Linked DNA regions of Homo sapiens: regions 1, 3 and 4 are each linked to region 2. Evidence: promoter capture Hi-C in 16 types of primary human blood cells and fetal thymus (Javierre and others, 2016). All regions are on one chromosome and are shown on one strand. Each heading gives the region's core, a stretch centred on a gene start or on the middle of the fragment in contact. The rest is flanking DNA. Distances are from core to core; before and after follow the strand shown. Region 1 overlaps ZFC3H1 (zinc finger C3H1-type containing). Region 2 holds the start of CCDC59 (coiled-coil domain containing 59). Region 3 holds the start of TBC1D15 (TBC1 domain family member 15). Region 4 overlaps THAP2 (THAP domain containing 2).

Evidence for each region. The method cuts DNA at HindIII sites, captures the fragments that hold promoters and counts their contacts. A CHiCAGO score of 5 or more calls a contact.
Region 1: a contact is called between a fragment that was not itself captured here and the fragment with the promoter of CCDC59 in region 2, in 3 of 17 cell types (total B cells, fetal thymus and total CD4 T cells). The highest score is 7.5, in total B cells.
Region 3: a contact is called between the fragment with the promoter of TBC1D15 here and the fragment with the promoter of CCDC59 in region 2, in 1 of 17 cell types (total CD4 T cells). The highest score is 5.6, in total CD4 T cells.
Region 4: a contact is called between a fragment that was not itself captured here and the fragment with the promoter of CCDC59 in region 2, in 1 of 17 cell types (total B cells). The highest score is 7.1, in total B cells.

The regions. Positions count from the first base shown.
Region 1 is chr12:71,660,279-71,662,978 of GRCh38, reverse strand. The region is part of intron 1 of ZFC3H1 (zinc finger C3H1-type containing); the gene reads left to right. Among named protein-coding and RNA genes, the nearest start is that of ZFC3H1, 2.2 kb to the left of the region's middle. The HindIII fragment of the contact is 2,219 bases long and covers 194-2,412 here.
Region 2 is chr12:82,357,020-82,359,849 of GRCh38, reverse strand. It overlaps CCDC59 (coiled-coil domain containing 59), which reads left to right and starts at 1,463. Exons shown (of 4, transcript NM_014167.5): 1 at 1,463-1,627; 2 at 2,581-2,830. The coding sequence starts at 1,474. METTL25 (methyltransferase like 25) reads right to left here and starts at 1,321. Exons shown (of 12, transcript NM_032230.3): 1 at 1,026-1,321. The coding sequence starts at 1,284. RefSeq lists enhancers at 533-1,093, 1,024-1,583, 1,094-1,654. The HindIII fragment of the contact is 1,548 bases long and covers 151-1,698 here.
Region 3 is chr12:71,838,287-71,841,205 of GRCh38, reverse strand. It overlaps TBC1D15 (TBC1 domain family member 15), which reads right to left and starts at 1,447. Exons shown (of 17, transcript NM_001146213.3): 1 at 1,395-1,447. The coding sequence starts at 1,424. The HindIII fragment of the contact is 6,842 bases long and covers 1-2,919 here.
Region 4 is chr12:71,679,592-71,682,599 of GRCh38, reverse strand. THAP2 (THAP domain containing 2) reads right to left here. Exons shown (of 3, transcript NM_031435.4): 3 at 1,956-3,008. The region is part of intron 1 of LOC124902965 (a long non-coding RNA gene); the gene reads left to right. Among named protein-coding and RNA genes, the nearest start is that of TMEM19, 5.0 kb to the left of the region's middle. The HindIII fragment of the contact is 5,054 bases long and covers 1-3,008 here.

The sequences.
Region 1 (2,700 bases), core at 54-2,553, about 11 Mb after region 2:
CACTAAAGTTCCCTTTAGCGTCATTACTAGGTCTGTGAGACGAGTGTAACTTTGAATCATCAGAACCGCTTATTTCTCCCTGTGTCAGTATACTTTAAGTTGTTCTTTGGTAATTCCCCATGTGTCACACTATAGCGTTATTCTTAAGACTGCTTCATTGGGTATATTAACGTGCTGTGGATTGGGTTAAGCTTATGAAATCTAAGACAGTTAAGTCTGATTTGTAATAATACCTTAGAAGCCCAAGTTTCATTAGCATTTGTATTTTTGCTGGTACAGAAACTTTGTGTTTTATATGAAGTTGACTTGGATTGTTAGAGAAAAAATATTCATAAACAGTTTAAGTAATATTGTTGCTTTATCATATTGCAGTTTGACGTTGAAAATTGTAAAGTTTTAATCTGCACAGTCCTGCACTATTTTTGTGATTCTGTTTTTATCTTGATTTATTCCGGTTGCTGCCTTTTAAAGTGGGGGGGGGAGGGGTAAAAAAAAAACAACTCTGGTGTCTTTACCAAGTCTGTTTCAGAGCTTTTTGATTCATTTGATCTTTTTGGAACACTTTACCTCCTTTACGTTTCTATCTGTGTTCACTTTTGCACATTGTGTAACTTCGTGCTGACTAAATGAGGGCCAGAGAGAGAAAGATAAACTTATCAGCATTTTTATTTTAATACGTTAGAGTGGAGGAATGTGTATGCGAGGGTGGAGATTACGGGTAAGTTGAGAAAGGAAATAGTAACATTCCAGATTTTTCCTACTTCTAACCTTATTCTCAGTTTTAAACATTACTGAGTTTACTCAGCATTTATACAGAGGAATCAATCATCCGAAGGTTTCCTGTTTTATAATGGGTTTGTAAAACACTATCTTGACTTAATCTGTGATCATTGCAAAAATTGTTTAAAGACTTTCATTACTGGTTGTAATTCACATAGTGTGATGATTTTTAATTTCGTTATTATATATGAAACTTAAAAGTAATGACAGTTATTTGGAAGACAATCAGAATTACTTTTATAGAACACTTAGGTCCAGAATAGGTCTTTCTCAAATGTCATGATGTAAAAGGGGCAAGGAATGTACATTTAGGTGAGAAACAGCAGCTTCTGATGCTAGTTCCCTGAAAAACCTTACTTCTGCAACCAAAAGTTGGGTTAGGAGTATTTCAGGATTGTTTCGGAGAAAATCATGTAGGCGCCAGGCGTGGTGGCTCACGCCTGTAATCCCAACACTTTGAGAGGCCGAGGCGGTGGATCACTTGAGATCAGGAGTTCCAGACCAGCTTGGCCAACATGGTGAAACCTTGTCTCTACTAAAAATAAAAAAGTTAGCCAGGCGTGGTGTTGGGTGCTTGTATTTCCAGCTACCCGGGAGGCTGAGGCAGGAGAACCGATTGAACTCGGGAGGCAGAGTTGTAGTGAGCAGAGATTGCACCACTGCACTCCATCCTGGGCGGTAAAGCGAGACTCCGTTTCAAAAAAAAAAAAAAAAGGAAAATTATATAGATATTTAACTTTTTAAAAGCCAGCAAATGGTTCTTCCAAGAAGGTTAGAAAACCTCTGCCCACGGTGTTTCTTAATCCATGGATTTGTGGTCTATTTTGAATCCAAAAGCCAGAAAGGCTATTTAAGCATATATATGTGTATGGTTTTTATTTATTTATTTATTTATTTTTGAGACAGAGTCTCGCTCTGTCGCCCAGGCTGGAGTGCAGTGGTGTGATCTCGGCTCACTGCAAGCTCCGCCTCCCGGGTTCACGCCATTCGGCCTCAGTCTCCCGAGTAGCTGGGACTACAGGCGCCCGCCACCACGCCCGGCTAATTTTTTATATTTTTAGTAGAGACAGGGTTTCATCATGTTAGCCAGGATGGTCTCGATCTCCTGACTCCGTGATCCGCCCACCTCGGCCTCCCAAAGTGCTGGGATTACAGGCATGAGCCACCGTGCCCAGCCAATGTGGATGGTTTTTAAATTTTTTTAATTAAAAAAAATTTTTATTAAATTTATTTAAAAAAATTTTTTTTTGGGGAGACGAAGTCTTGCTATGTTGCCCAGGCTGATCTTGAACTTGTAGCTTCAAGAGATCCTCCTTCCTTAGACTCCCAAAGTGCTGGGATTTATAGGCGAGAGCCACCAGTTTATATGTGTTTTTTAAAGGTACAAAGATGAAACCTGTAGTTTGTATTAGGGAAACAAATGAAAATAAGTAGTTGCAGTTTAGTATAAAAAGTTGAAACTGAAGTATGTATATAAAAAAGTACTATGGGAGCTCAAAGGTTTTTCTTAAAATTTTTATTCTGTATTAGAAAAGGGGGAGGTGAGTGGGCTTTCTGCTTTTGTCCTCTTTCTGCGTGTTTATTCAATACTATTTTGGGCCTCTACCATAGACCTTTATTAATTGGTAAGCTTGCATGTTTTTATTAGTAAACTGGCATATGATGTTGCAAAAAAAAAAAAGTACCAGAAAATATCCAGTCTGCTTGTGTGACTTTGATTTCCGTAGTAACTTGTCATAAATAAGATATCTTGTTGTTTTTCTTTTCACAGATGCTGCACTTAAAAGGATGCTTGTTTTGATGTCCTGCTCATTGTTTTCCCTATGAAGTATCAGTAATCCATCCTAGAGGTGGTGTTCTTTTTAAGAATTTGAGAAGGAAAACGTAGTTCCCAGCTACTTTTATATAATGTGAGCAAAC
Region 2 (2,830 bases), core at 214-2,713:
ATGCTCAATGAATAAAGTTCACTAGTAAGGGTAACTTTGGGAAGTCTAGAAGGAAAGTAAAAATCCCAGAAGCCTGTTGGTGTCCATCATTCTACTTCCAAAATATGCTTGCCTGAGAAGAATCTACATTTCTTGAGGGTAGGAAAAGCTTGAGCCTACAAAAATTCAAGACACATATTAGGTACTTTAAAATAGTTTTTAAATGAAATAGTGACTATCCGAATACCATCCTAGTCCAAGATACAATCATCTGTTGTACTACTGAGGTAGTCTCCTAACTGGCCTCTCAGCTTCAGCTTTTGCCCTAGTCTATTCTTCAAATAATTCACAGTTATCTTTTCAAATGTGAATTAGGTCACTATGTTGCCTAAATAATCCCAAGGGTTTCCGTCACACTTAAAATCCAAAATCCTTCCAAGGCCTAGAAAGGCCTGTGCCATCTGGCCTCTGCTTGCCTCCCGTCCTGCACCTGCAGCCCCTCACCTGGCTAGAGCCAAGCCTAGCCTGCGGTTCCCACCGCCTGCAACCCCTCCCTGTGGCTCTGCAGCTAGTGCCTTCTCATGTTCCTGACCTCCTAAATTGAGGCAGCCTCCTTACACAATCCCTACCACATTACACTGTTTTTATTTTCTACTTCATTACCACCACTTGAAATTATCTTTATTAACTGTTGAGTAATCTTCCACCACATGCTGGCATTTATAAAACCTGTGAGAGCACTGCTCCCCTAGTTTCCCTAGCGTCAATTATTATGGAATTACTAGATGAAGGAACTCCCCTGCCCTGTTTCCTGCTTTCTTTAAATTGTGGACATACACAAGCACCCAAAGAAAGAGTGATCCTGATTCCAAAGAACATCCCCACCCCACCCCTCAACTAATCCGACCCCTCCTCGGTTTCCCAGCGGGCCGCCCCGCCTCCGCCGCCACGCACCTGGTTCTGCTGGCTTCCACCAGGGGGCTCGCTTCGTCTGCCGGGACCTTCTCCTCCGCCTCCCTTCCCGCCCCGCCTACCCCACCACCCACCTGCTTCCCACTCTGCTTCCACTAGGGGGCGCGTCTCTGAGGGCAGGGCCTCCGTCTCCGACGCTGACTTCCTCAGCGCAGCCAGCACTGTCTCCGGTGGCAAGTCGACCAGCTCCTCCCACACGGATTCTGTGTAGAAATCCACGGTATGTGCATTGGAAATGGACAGGGCATCCCTCAGGAACTGCAGCAGTCCCTGCAACTTGGCACGCAGCGTGGGCAGGTCCGGGGTCACCGGGAGAGGGCAAGAAGCCGCCATGACGCTCACCCTCCGAGGCTGTAGGTGGCGCAAACATGGCCGTGAGGCGCCAGCTCGGCCCAAATTAGCACAGGCAGGCTCAGTAGAGCTCCGAGCCGGATTCCTTCTGAGCGATTGATTGCTTCGGCTTGGTGACGTATTTTGTGGGCGTCCGTCGTGGTCTTCTGATGACGCAGTTAGTCGGCTGCAATGGCGCCGGTGAGGCGGTCCGCGAAGTGGCGGCCTGGTGGTATTGAGGCGCGTGGTGAAGGGGTTTCCACTGTCGGGTACAGGAATAAGAATGTGAGACAGAAGACATGGCGGCCTAACCACCCGCAAGCCTTCGTGGGGAGCGTTCGCGAGGGTATGTAAGAAGGCAACCATTTGCAAATCCTCAGGCTTGCTAAGTTTTAGGATATAAGATTCGCTGAAGCTTGGAAGAAGGATTTAGGAACCAGACCCGGTCCTACTTGGGGCAAGGGAATTCATTCCTGAGCCCGCTAAAGCTGTGAGCTTCGCAGAGCTCTAGATAGGAAGACGGAGCAGTGTTGCTATTATTTAAACGTCTTTTCTGACGTAACCCTGTATTTCATCAGAACTTTTTTCCTATATTTTTCCTGAGAAACTGAGCAGAGAGAGTCTATGACCCTGTGAACTCTTGCGCATGTGGTAAGGTAAAGGATAGAGAGGAGGACAGGGCCAGAAACACTGCTCCGAATTCTTCCTTATTACAAATACCCGAGGCCCTCCAGCCTTCGCTTTAATTTGTGTTTGTCATTTTGTATTGCTGTCTGTAAGGTCTCTTAGATCCCACTTGGAATATATAAATGTTAAATTCAGTCTTCCGATAATTGCTAGCTTTTCAGACAACCATACACTGTCTTTTTCTTTCGTGTTGAAACATTTTCGAAAACATGTAGTTTGTCCAAGATACTAGATGTGGCATTTTCTTTCCTATTTTTTAAGCATTTATTGAAGGCTCAGATTAAGTGTTTTAGATGAACTAAGGAATTTGTTTTGATTTGTGAATACAGCTGTAAACTCAAGTTGTGCAACAGTCTGAACTGGTCAGTTTTTCTTTGAGATTCTTACTTGGATTTCCGCATGACTGTTAGCCTGGTCTTTTTGCAAAGGGCCAACTTACTATGCAATCCATCAGCTTAAATTTGTTGCTTGAAATAATTTTTTAAAGCAAAATATAATACTAGAATCTGAATGTGATGACGTAAAAAAAGTTTTCATTTGTAATTAACAGCTCCATTCTTCGTTCAACTTCTTTTCTCTGAAAGTAATTTTGGATGATATTCCTCAATGTAGGACAAGGCTTTGCTTTTCGAAGAAAACTGAAAATACAGCAAAGTTACAAGAAATTGCTACGGAAGGAAAAGAAGGCTCAAACGTCACTGGAATCTCAATTCACAGATCGATACCCAGATAATCTGAAACATCTCTATTTAGCTGAAGAGGAAAGACATAGGAAGCAAGCAAGAAAAGTCGACCATCCTTTGTCAGAACAAGTTCACCAGCCGTTGCTTGAAGAACAGTGTAGCATTGACGAGCCTTTATT
Region 3 (2,919 bases), core at 198-2,697, about 11 Mb after region 2:
AGGGATCCCCTCTTGAAAAGTCCCAGCCTGGATCAGTTTAGATGGAAAATCAAACAGGATAATCTTCAAATACGCAGTAAGTCAAGCAGTATATCAGCATCCACCCTGAATATAAAAAGAAAAAAACTGACAAGACAACCAAGGAGCACGAATAATCCAAAAAAGGATGCCCACCTATCCTTTAAAAGAGCCAGTAGGTACAAGTGTGTAATTTTATGTTTTTTTAAAAAAAAATTTATATAACCCTAACAACTCCAATACAAGAAATAATGATTGGCATCTCCTCCATTCTACAGATAAAGAACGCGAAAAGACAAAAGTCACAATTGCCCAATTTTCCAAGGTCATACTTCAGATTAACAGCAAAACCAAGCCCATATTTGTCATTCAGCCGCCTAGTCTAATACTCCAAACACCAAACCACAAACGCTGTCAAATAATTCAAAATGGGGTAGGGAAAGCAACAGGGAGACATGAGTGAAACTCAAGGAACAGAGGACGCTATCTGCAATGAGTAAACAACCATTAGTGTTCGATGAGTCACTTCAGTTGATTCCAGCTGTTTATGAAATACTCCTGCACTGGGAAATACTATCGGTGGCATATCATAAAGCTGATAGCCCTAACTATGCATAAGATGTGCCCTCGGAACGCGAATAGGCACTATTCGACGAAATCTCCGCACGTAATTCTAGTTTCCAACGAAATTAGGCGTGTCACTGACCACCTCCGTAAACCAGCATGACCAATACTCCTACTGAAATGCCTAGGAAATAAATATTTGGACGCCTTCCTAGACAAGCACAGGATGGTGTAAATCTCCATTTCTCTCAGGAAACACGTCCTGCTGCTCACAACCACCAACCAACTCAGCAGCTTGGTAAAAACAGACCCAATACACTCGTTTCTTCTAAGCGCACAGCTAGCTGCCTAGCATCTATTCAGCTCCTCCCGAAGGAAGCATAAACATCTTCACCAAACTGTAGCAAAGAAGACAGAGGCAAGTCGGGTTAACGCTTCAAAGAGAGAAAAGACGCTGGAGTCAGAAGAGTAGACATAAAGAACTAGAGTCAAGAAACAGTGAATCGGGGGAAAAAAGGAACTAGAGAGCCACCTGTCCCTTAGTAAAGGTAATACGAATAAAAGCCTCTCTGCTCTGGGGCAGAAGAGCGCCGAGGCCTAGCTGGCCTTGGAGCAGTAGCCGGCTCTATAACTCCGCGGCTGAACTGGCATTCTCGGGAAACCAGCTGGTACCACCCAGTCTTCTCCTACAGACGCCACGGGTTGTCCGGACACAGAAAGTCCCTCGTGTCCCTCCCCCAACCAGCTGCCAGGGAGCAAAAGCATCCCCGTCCCAGAGAAAAGCCGAGGTCTTCCTGGAGGCCGTTACCTACCTTCCCGCTCACAACACCCGCCGCCGCCATGTTTCCTGCGCGTGCCTGGTAATGACGTAGCAGAACCTCACGTGTCTCTCGGACATACAACAACATCCGGCAAAACTAGAATAACATCCGGGCGGGAAAAGGGCGGGGAGTGGCGGGAAGGGAGTGGAGGAAAGGAGCCGGGCGGAAAAAAGCCGCCTGACGCGTGCGTGCTGAACTGGGCTCAGAGACGGCTGGGGTGGAGTCTCAGGCCTAACGCTACGCTTGTGCTTGCCCCACGTCCTCCCCAAGGAAGACTGCTAAAATAATGTGTACCTTACTTGTATTGGAGTTTGTCGAGACTCTGAAGCTAGCGCAGGCCACGCCAGTTTGGTGAGATGAAACGAATACCATACTGGAAGCCAGCAAGATTTGTCCTGGTTTTTTGTTGTTGTTGTAGAAAAGGAGTCTCGCTCTGTCGCTCAGGCTGGAGTGCAGTGGCGCGATCTCGGCTCATTGCAGCCTCCGCCACTCGGTTCAAGCGATTCTCAAGCCTCAGCCTCCCGGGTAGCTGGGATTACAGGCGCGCGTCAAACGCCCAGCTAATTTTTAAATTTTTATTAGAGACGAGATTTCGCCAATGTTGCCCAGGCTGGTCTCGAACTCCTGACTTCAGGTGATCCGTCCGCTTCAGCCTTTGCCCAGAGAGCTGGGATTACAGGCTTGAGCCACCGCGCCCAGCCCATTAGCCTGGTTTTGTGGCAGTAGGCAAATCACCAGTGCACTCGAAACCTCAGTTTCTTATAGTAAAATCAAGATAGTGGCGTTGCGGTGAAGATCCAAGAAAGAGCAGCACTAACATGGAGATATCCCAGGCACTATACATGGAGACTTTTCCCCTCTGTATATGAGGTTTCTCTATTTGTCTGGTCACTGCCACTCACACATGACCTCCAGCAAGGTATTTCGATAGGAACTGTGATAATACCACGCCCTCATAGCTGCAGAGCCCAAGGCACATAGTTTATAGCACCTACACATTACTTATTAGCTCTGTGACTTAAAGCAGGTTTCTAAATTTATCAGAGCTTCAGGATGTAAACTGGGAATTACTCCTGCATGGAGTGGTTGTAGGGATTTCATACGACAATACATGTGTGGTAAAATGATTTGTAAAGATACTAAGGTAAGAATTTTACTTGTTCTCAGTGCTGTAAAAGAATGCAGAGAATGATTATATACTACCCCCTTGATAACTCTGGCACAGATCTGGGATTTCCCTAGCTCCGGGGCAGAATAAAAAGTCCCTTTCACCAAAAACACTTGTGTCCATTGAGGTACTTCCGTCTTCACACAGTGGAGAGGGGTTAGAGGCTTTTGAGTTTGGTTGAGGTAGGTGGCAACTAGCTGAACGACAGAAAAGGAGAGTTGCCGGTTATGTGACTACCAGGAACCTAATAGGTGAGGAAAGTGGTGGAACCTTAGGTGGGAATGAATGCGTAGCATATTAGGGAGATTGCGTGCTAGGTATCTGAGATTCCAACCATGACCAAGACCC
Region 4 (3,008 bases), core at 247-2,746, about 11 Mb after region 2:
AAGGGCAATTTGTAAAGGTTTGTTTGGTGGTTAAAAAGAACATGAAAATAGGAAGTTCAAGAGAATGGAGAAGAGTTAGAAATAACACATTTTGGAGTGTTTGCTAAATAATTTATTAAACTGAAAATTCATCTGAGAAATAGACACCTCTTTTAAAAAATTTTTAATATAAAAATAGAGGTGAGGTCTCACTGTGTTGTCCAGACTGGTCCCAAACTCCTGGCTATAAGTGATCCTCTTGCCTTGGCCTTCCAAAGTGTTGGGATTACAGGTGTGAGCCACTGCATCCAACCAGTATATGCCTTCTTGACATTAAACCCGAATATTTTGTTTTTTAAATGTTTGTAGTATAGATTTTAAAAGACTAGGGAGCAATTTGAAGATGGATTTGTTGTATTAGGTTGAGCTCATTCTAAAAGGGCCTTAGGGAGAGGGTGGGGAGCAATTGAGGGCAGGAATAAAGAAATGGAATACTGTTTTCCAGTAACCTTGAGGACGGACACCATGTCTGTCTGGCACATCCTAGTTTGATCAGTGTCTCTTAATGAGTGTTAAGATAGTATTTTTTGGGCTGGGTACGGTGGCTCACGCCTATAATCCCAGCACTTTGGGAGGCCAAGACGGGCGGATCACCTGAGGTTGGGAGTTCCAGACCAGCCTGATCAACATGGAGAAACCATGTCTCTACTAAAAATACAAAATTAGCTGGGCATGGTGGCACATGCCTGTGATCCCAGCTACTCAGGAGGCTGAGGCAGGAGAATCACTTGAACCCGGGAGGTAGAGGTTGTGGTGAGCCGAGATTGCGCCATTGCACTCCAGCCTGGGCAACCAGAGCGAAAATCCATCTCAAAAAAAATAAAAATAAAAATAAAAAAGATAGCATTTTTTGAATTACAGTATTCGAAACAAGTTTTTTTTTTTTTTTTTTTTTTTTTTTTTTTTTTTTTTTTAAACAGTCTCACACTATTGCCTGGGCTGGAAGTGCAATGGCACAATTTCCGGCTCACTGCGAACCTCTGCCTCCCCTGGTTCAAGCGATTCTCCTGCCTCAGCCTCCTGAGTAGCTGGGATTACAGGCACCCACCATCACGCCTGGCTTATTTTTTGTATTTTTTTTTTAGCAGAGACGGAGTTTCACTATGTTGGCCAGGCTGGTCTGGAACTCCTGACCTTGTGATCCGCCCACCTTGGCCTCCCAAAGTGCTGGGATTACAGGAGTGAGCCACTGCGCCCAGCCCAAAACAATATTTTAATCAGAAGAAATTAATAAAATATTACAATCTTTCCCTTTTGTTAGTAAGATAGTGCTTTGATAATGTATGCTTTTTTTTTTTTTTTTTTAAAGAGACAGGGTTGCACTCTGTTGCCCAGGATGAAGTGCAGTGGTGCGATCAGAGTCACTGCAGCCTTGAACTCCTGGGCTCAAGCAGTCCTTCTGCCTCAGCCTCCTGAGTAGCTAGGGTACTACAGCCACATGCCTCTGTGCCTGGCTAATTTTTATTTCATTATTTTTGTAGAGATGGGTGTCTCGCTAAGTTGCCCAGGCTGGTCTTAAACTCCTGGCCTTAAGTGATCCACCCGCCTTAGCCCCACAACATGCTGGGATTACAGGCATGAACTCCTGTACCTAGCCTGCAAATACATTTTTGTGTGAGCCTCAAATTATGGTCAGGATAGAGATAGACTGTTACCATTTTCATAGCCGTTCATATATCTTGTCTAGATTGCCTATTATCTGAAACAGTGCAAATAAACTATAATGTACATTTAGATATAATGTGAGCAACAAAAATGAAAATAATTTCTCTTCAAGGCTTTACATTATCTTTGTTCTACCATTTGCTTCAGTTTAGGGAGAAGGACTTCACAGAAGTCTTTCAGGGGGTCAATGTAAAAGAACTTTCACAGAAATATTTATGTACATTTTTTAGAAATAACAGGCATGACAGTAATTTCCTTGGGGAAAAATGTTTAATATCACCATACTCAGAATACATTTTTTTGAATATGCAATTATTTAGTATACACTACAAAATCCTCAATTTTAGAAAGTTTCCAACTGTCTAAATATCAGAAGAATGCAATATTTTGGTACAAAGATGAACCATTTCCTATATTATAGCAAAATTAAAATCTACCCGTATTCTAATATTGAGAAATGAGATAAAACACAATATTATAAAGTCTACTTAGAGAAGATCAAGTGACCTCAAAGACTTTACTATTTTCATATTTTAAGACACATGATTTATCCTATTTTAGTAACCTGGTTCATACGTTAAACAAAGGATAATGTGAACAGCAGAGAGGATTTGTTGGCAGAAAATCTATGTTCAATCTAGAACTATCTAGATCACAGACATTTCTATTCCTTTTGCAAGTTGGCACACAGTAAATGCCCGAATGAATAAATAAATTGCATTAACAAGGATGTCTTCATGTGTAAATCAGAGATAATACCACCTACCACACAGAATGTAAGGGAAAAGAGAACAAATAAGTACCAAAGTGCTTTATACGATTCTGAGTTATTTTAAAAATCTGTGTTAATAGGTTTGTTATTTTACACAAAATATCAAATTTCAAATGAACTCCAGTGCTGGATTTCGATGTAGTATTTTATTTATAGCTATGTTTTCCTTTTAACAAAGATACCATTAACACATTTGTTCAGTGTTCATTTTAAAGGGTAAAAATGTTGTCTTATAGCTCATTCAATAAAACACCATAATTCAGGTCAAATGCCAATGTCCTTGTACCTCCTTTGCTAAGTCAATATAAGGAGGAATCTGTTTTGTTTCAAGACAAAAGCATTTGATTATAAAAAGGTCTACAGTTTATAGTTCTTACTGAATTCCAATTCAACAGCATTTACCAAAGGACTTTACAGCTATTTCTTTTGTAGCATTTATCATATTGTATTATAAATATTACTTGTTTCTTTCAGGAGATAGAGCAACTTGAGGGCAGAAAATAATGTAATATTCCTTTTTATATCAAGTACC